Regions from separate parts of the Homo sapiens genome. Here region 1 is linked to region 2. Evidence: promoter capture Hi-C in human tissues and cell types (Jung and others, 2019). All regions are on one chromosome and are shown on one strand. The core of a region is centred on a gene start or on the middle of the fragment in contact, and the rest is flanking DNA. Distances in the headings are between cores, read along the strand shown. Region 1 overlaps TLN2 (talin 2). Region 2 holds the start of CA12 (carbonic anhydrase 12).

What was found. The method cuts DNA at HindIII sites, captures the fragments that hold promoters and counts their contacts. A contact is called where the count stands out against the background at its distance.
Region 1: a fragment that was not itself captured here is called in contact with the fragment with the promoter of CA12 in region 2 in 1 of the 25 tissues and cell types used here (lymphoblastoid cells).

The regions. Positions count from the first base shown.
Region 1 is chr15:62,844,093-62,847,157 of GRCh38, forward strand. It overlaps TLN2 (talin 2), which reads left to right. Exons shown (of 59, transcript NM_015059.3): 59 at 1-539. It overlaps LOC105370854 (a long non-coding RNA gene), which reads right to left. Exons shown (of 7, transcript XR_007064671.1): 3 at 813-1,048; 4 at 1-409. Among named protein-coding and RNA genes, the nearest start is that of MIR190A, 22 kb to the left of the region's middle. RefSeq lists enhancers at 1,294-1,794, 2,476-2,977, 2,978-3,065. The HindIII fragment of the contact is 9,285 bases long and covers 1-3,065 here.
Region 2 is chr15:63,380,014-63,383,194 of GRCh38, forward strand. It overlaps CA12 (carbonic anhydrase 12), which reads right to left and starts at 1,833. Exons shown (of 11, transcript NM_001218.5): 1 at 1,623-1,833. The coding sequence starts at 1,707. RefSeq lists enhancers at 1,517-2,037, 2,038-2,557. The HindIII fragment of the contact is 12,151 bases long and covers 1-3,181 here.

The DNA of each region.
Region 1 (3,065 bases), core at 70-2,569, 540 kb before region 2:
GGTCCCCAGAGTTCAGAAAGCAAAAGATCTTGACAACTGTGCCAGTAGTGGCTCTGGTCCTATCTCTCCACAGTGCTGGCCTCTGCTGGGGAAGGCATCTTTCCCAAAGGTATCCCCAAGTACCATGTTGAAAATGTCCTCAGTCTGTTGCTCCATCTTTCTGAGCCTCTGCTTGGTATGTCATGTTTATGGTCACTACGGATGAGTGTGTGCAGAGTTTGGGTTGATTCTTTTAAATGCTACAAACAAGAGCTATTTCTTTTCAATAAAAAAGGTTTGGATTCGGCCTCTTCCTCTGAGCCCACCTCCCAGCCCTCCAGGGAGCATCAGTGTACCTGAGTCACTTTGTCTGCATCTCTTCATCCCACAAAACACGAGGCTGGGTCTCATTCAGCGGCCTCTCACCAACCTTCAAGATCCAGAAGAAAACAGGAACGTTCAGCTCTGCCCTGTGTCGTATCTAATCACATACATTAATTTATCTAACCACATAAGTTATTTTTTTTTATTTGCCAGAAATAAACCTTTAAAGGAACAAACCTGTGTGGAGGACTCATGGGAATGGGAGGAAGATGGAAAAGAAGGGGGAAGAGACTGTCTTTATCATGAGAGTAAAATTCCACCTTGAGGACTAGCTCCATAGTTACCAGAGGTATGTCAGGAGAGAGCACGTGTGTGTGAGTGAGTGACAGACGCAGAGCCACAGGGTGCCACAGAATTTCATGTAGCTTTGCTGACAAGAGTTAACTTGGAGAAACTCCAGGAGCAGGCGTCCTGGACAAGTAGCTAGGGGGCTTTTTGGCTTTACATACCGCCTCTGTCAGAAGACCGCACAGCTGAATACAGAAGTGCATATGGGATCATCTCCAATCTTGACCCAGGTCCTGGCACAGGAAGGTTAGGTTCACTTCTGACAGCTGAGGCCACAACTGCAACCCCCGGAGACTGCCAGGCCCTCCTTCCTGTTTGGACTGGGAATTGCTGGGGGCCAGAAGTCCTTGTTTGTGGCGGGGCAGCCAGACTTAGAAAAGTGTGAGGCATTTCTAATCTGCAAGAGGGGGTGTCAAAGAATCACCATCGCAACGAAGAGAGTCACTGGTATGTCTAACAACCAATAAGAAAGATTTTTTTTCACGCTTGAAAGGATGATTTAGGATCTCTAAGCCAGTTGATAATGAAGGTTTTTATATCTTTGATTAACAAGAACAACAAAAATGAGATTGGAGCTGACCACACCCAAAATGAATGTGGGAAGCCTGAGCCGACCAGGAAGGGGTGAGAGGACTGACTGACTTAATGAGCCTCCTGGGTGTCAGCTCGGTGCTGCTGGACACCCAGAGCCCAGCCCTCCGCAGCTGTGGGGAAGGTGGTGTGGCCATTTTGCAGAGCGGCAAACCAAGACTCATGCAGAAGTGGTGTCTGCAGGAGTTCAGATCCTCTGCACACGCAGCTCAATCAGGCTGACCCATCAACTACGACCTTAACTTAGAAGTGCCCCAGCCCCTGCTGTGTGTAGGACTCTGGGGACCCGAGCCTAATTCCTGGAGGAGGTCACAGTCCAGGGAGGGCAAACATTGACCCAAGGGTGTGGGAGTAAAGGGCAGAGCCCTGAAGCTGGGAAGGATTTCCAAGAGGAGGACATTTGGCCCGACTCCTAATAAATAGGAGTTCCCCAGCAGAGAAGGGATGGGGGTGGCACTCCAGGCTGCAGGAACCGCACTTAGGTAGGCCTGGGTTTCTGAAGAGGCAGTTGCTTAAGGAGGTGAACAATTCCCTGAGGCCGGCAAGGAGGCAGCCAGGAGCACACCGTGAGGGGCCTTGTGTCAGGGAGGGCACTTCAGGTCCAGTCATAAGATGAATCACTCTGCAGGAGATCAGGAGAGAGATTCTGTGCAGGGAAAATGCATGATGGAAACAGGAGATGCACTAACAAAGGTCAGCAACTGGAGAATGAATTCGGTTCCAAGGTAAAAAAAATTCAAAGCAGGGTGAGCTGGGCCACAGAGCTGCCCAGTGGGAGATGCTGTAGTGGGAGGGGCTGCTGCCAGAGGTAGGATGGGGGAGCCGCGTTCCATCTCTAAGTTAGCTAACACCTACCCTACACCTACCACGTGCCAGACACGCACCATTATCACCTTTATTTAATCCTCACAACTATACCCTGTACAACGCATGGGTGCTCTTATCTCCATTTTATAGCCAGCAAGGCTGAGGCACAGAGAGGTTAGGTAACTTGCCCAAGGCCACACAGCTAGCAGAACGGGGATCTCCCAACCACTATGTTAAGATCACCCAGCTAGTGAGTGGCAAAGCAAGGATTGAAATTCCAATTTGTTTCCAAAGCTTTTTTTTTTTTTTTAAATCAAGAGCATAGGGAGAACCTCAGTCAGACCTGGCTAGTGGGATAGATATTAAGCAGGCAGACACAGGGAGAGGGAGCTGGGGGCAGACGGAACTGTGTGCATATGGCAGAACCTGGGATGTGCTGGGGGCTCCTGGGCGAGTAGGGAAAGAGACCATAGGGGCTGGTGGGGGCTGCAGGAGAGGCCAAGTCTGCACATGTCTGGTGAGGGGAAGAAGAAGACATTCTGAGACCACTGAGTGAGCCCGTGCTACCGAGCTTGTTCTGTATCATGCAGTCACAGAGAGCCTTGCTTTACTTTATTCCCACTGAGTGTCTCCAAAACCCTGTTTTCAGACCACAGCTCTATCCTGGGTTTAAAACCACAGCGTTCACAGGTAGTTCTGTGGTTCCGAGATACTCCACCAGGCATTTTTATCTGAACACCTTCCACCCCAAGCAGAGCACAATTGCAGGAGTTCTGCTGCCTGAACTCCCCAAGGGGAGAAGCCCCAGCCCAGACCCTCTATGGCCAGGCTGACCTGGGGGTGGTGGGCGGAAAACCCTGCCTGTGTGGGCTGGCACCTAGGAGGGGCAGTAACAGCCTGAGCTCTTGCGGCCATATTCAGAGCCTCCTGCCTGTTTGGGCCTCTCTCAGGATAATCTGCAGCTTATTTTCAGAAAGAGAAGTTTAATTCCCTTAAGCTCACAACTAAATGTTGGA
Region 2 (3,181 bases), core at 583-3,082:
CAGCTTAACTCCTCTCCACCTCCAACTTTGGGTTCATGCTGACATTCTACACCTCAGTGATTTTTGCTTTGACCTGTCCTCTAAGGCAGTTAAAAACCCAAGGAAACTGCATGAGAATTTACAGAATAAAAGCTGTGCTCTACCCAGGGGTAGGCAGTCTCCTTCCTCAGAGTGAGGCGAAAGTGGAGTTTTGACTACAAACTTCCCCAGTCCCAACTTGGAGAATTGGGAGAGGAGATAAGGAGGAGGGAAAGGGAGAGGGAAGAGGAAGAGCAGGGAAAGTAGGGAAGAAAGGAAGGGGAGGGAGGGAAGAGAACAGGGAAGGGCAGGAAAAGAGAGAGAAGGGAGGCAGAGCTGCCCCAGAGTGAGAGGAGCAACCAGCTATAGGAAAGAGGGCCAACTAATGGCTGTTTCTCCCTTTGGTCTTGGAGCAACTTAGGACTAAAGAGATTTCCAGGGAAACTTTGGTCTCAGTGCAGCTTTCGTAAAAGGAAACATGTAAAGTTTGTGGTTTTAAAACTTGATTTTCACTTTTACATCGCTCCTTTCTCCCAACTTCTGTTACATCGCTTCTGTTTCTCCCTGACCAGATGAGGGAGATAATATCAAGCACATCATGCCAGCTAGTTGACTGGAATTTAATTAAGAGTTATCCACAGCCTGGCTCCCCTGCCCTTCCCCATGGGCACTGTGACCTCCAAGAGAGGAGGCTCAGAGCTTTTATGCTGCTGAGCAGGACACATTTCCCACCACCACTGCCTCGCCAGGAAGAATCTAGTTTCAGCCAGTAAAATCACTTTCGGTCCAAAATCACTTTCTTATTCCAAAAGATTAATGAACCAGCCTTGGCTGTACACGTGTTAGCTCACTGGCCCGGCGTGAGCCCACAGTTCAGGTCCCCTCTGCCACCTCCTCCTGTCACTCCACGGAGCCTCCATTCAGTCCCTCAGCCTCCAGCCTTTTGGGATTTAGTGTTCTAATTACAATCAGAAATATGCTGTGTGTGTGTGTGTGTGTGTGTGTGTGGTTTGTGTGCGTGCGCGCGTGCGTGTGTGTGTGTACGTGCACACACACGTACATTCAGCATAGTAGAGCCCTCCTGGAGAAAAACAATGATTAAGAATGGGATGCATCATCCCTTTGACTTGTAGGTAAGACTTAATGGTAAAGATCCTCTCCTCCAAAGAAAAGCGCCTACCACTGTCTGCGGGTTCTGCACAGGGGCACAGCAAACCTTTCTCTGTGCTTACCCCAATCAGAATGCCACAGTCATGTCTCTACTTTCTAAACGTGGATCAGGGGAACGCTGTTTTAAATCTTGGCTTTGCATCTCCTCCCTGGTTAGCAAGTTCCCAAGCCACATCTTCAGAGCTGGCGGTGCCCGGGAGTACACGCAAACATTTTAACACCAAATCTGCGCCAAGCGCCACTAGAAAGCAACGTGCTTCCCGACCCAACCTCAGCAAAGGAAAACGGAGCATCCTTTCTTGAGAATCTACTATTTGGTACTACACCTTCCCTGCTCCCCGCAGCAATGATTTTACTTTATCATTGAAGAGCCTTCAGCCCAGGGGCGGCTGAGCGCTCAGGAGTGTTAGGAAAGAAGCAGGCGGAAACTTTACCGTTCACTGGGGCCGGGCTGGAAGGCTGTTCCTTTAAGATCACCAGCAGGAGCACGGCCGCCGCGTGCAGGCTGCGCCGGGGCATCTTCGCGGGCTCCTGCGGGGCGGGCGCGGGCTGTGCCGGGGGCTCCCGGTGGCCGCTCGCTCTCCAGCTGCACACCGGGACCGCGTGCGCGCAGCCTGGGTGCCGTGGCGAGTACGTCCGCCCTTCGCTCTCCTGGCTTCCCCGGGCAGCTTTTATGGAGCAACTCAACGCCAAACACTTGATGTCATCGTGCGGGGAGGGGGTGGGGGAGGAGAACGCCCTGCCCACCGGAGGGCTGGCGCCCCAGATCCTAGGTGAGTTGTAGCCTTGACTTCAGCAGCACTCTGCGGGTCCCCGGCGCTCCTCTGGGCCAGGGCTGACCCAGGAACACAGTTCTCCGAGGAGCTGCTGGCAGGCGTGGGTGAGATCCGCCTGTCTCACATCCAGAAGGGTGCGTCTAGGGATTCCTTCAGTGGCATGCCCTTGGTCTGTCACTGGTCCTGTAACAGCCCAACGAGTTCACCTTGCCCGCTGCTTAGACAGAGCCCATTTATCAAGACAGGGGAGTTGCAATGGAGAAAGTAATTCACGCAGAGCTTGCCGTGCCGGAGACCGGAGGTTTTCGTTCCTTTGTTTGTTTGTTTGAGACGGAGTCTCGCTCTGTTGCCCAGGCCGGAGTGCAATAGCGTGATCTCGGCTCACTGCAACCTCCGCCTCCCGGGTTCAAGCGATTCTCCTGCCTCAGCCTCCCGAGTAGCTGGGATTACAGGCACATGCCACCATGCCCAGATAATTTTTGTATTTTTAGTAGAGGCGGGGTTTCGCCAGTTTAAGGCTGGCCTTAAACTCCCGACCTCAGATAATTCACCTGCCTTGGCTTCCCAAAGTGCTGGGATTACAGGCGCCCACCACCACACCCGGCTAATTTTTCTAATTTTAGTAGAGACGGGGTTTCACCATGTTGGCCAGGCTGGTCTGGAACTCCTGACCTCAAATGATCCACCTACCTTGGCCTCCTAAAGTACTGGGATTCCAGTACTCAAATCAGTCTCCCCAAGCATTCCGGGAGTTGTTTGTTTGTTTGTTTGTTCAGACGGAGTCTCCCTCTGTCGCCCAGGCTGAAATGCAGTGGCATGGTCTTGGCTCACTGCAACCTCTGCCTCACGGGTTCAAGCGATTCTCCTGCCTCAGCCTCCTGGGTAGCTGGGATTACAGGCACGCGCCGCCACACCCAGCTAATTTTTGTATTTTTAGTAGAGACGGGGTTTCACCATGTTGGCCAGGCTGGTCTTGATCTCTTGATCTCGTGATCCACCTAAAGTGCTGGGATTACAGGCGTTGAACCACTGCACCCTGCCTCTGGGAGTTTTTAAAGATAATTTGGCAGATAGGGGCTTGGGACTTGGGGAGTGCTGATTGGTCAGGTTGCAGATGGGATCACAGGGGGGTTGAAGTAACGTTTTCTTGCAGTCTTCTGTTCCTGGGTGGGATCGCAGAACTGGTTGAGCCAGATCACACACGGTCTGAGTGGTGT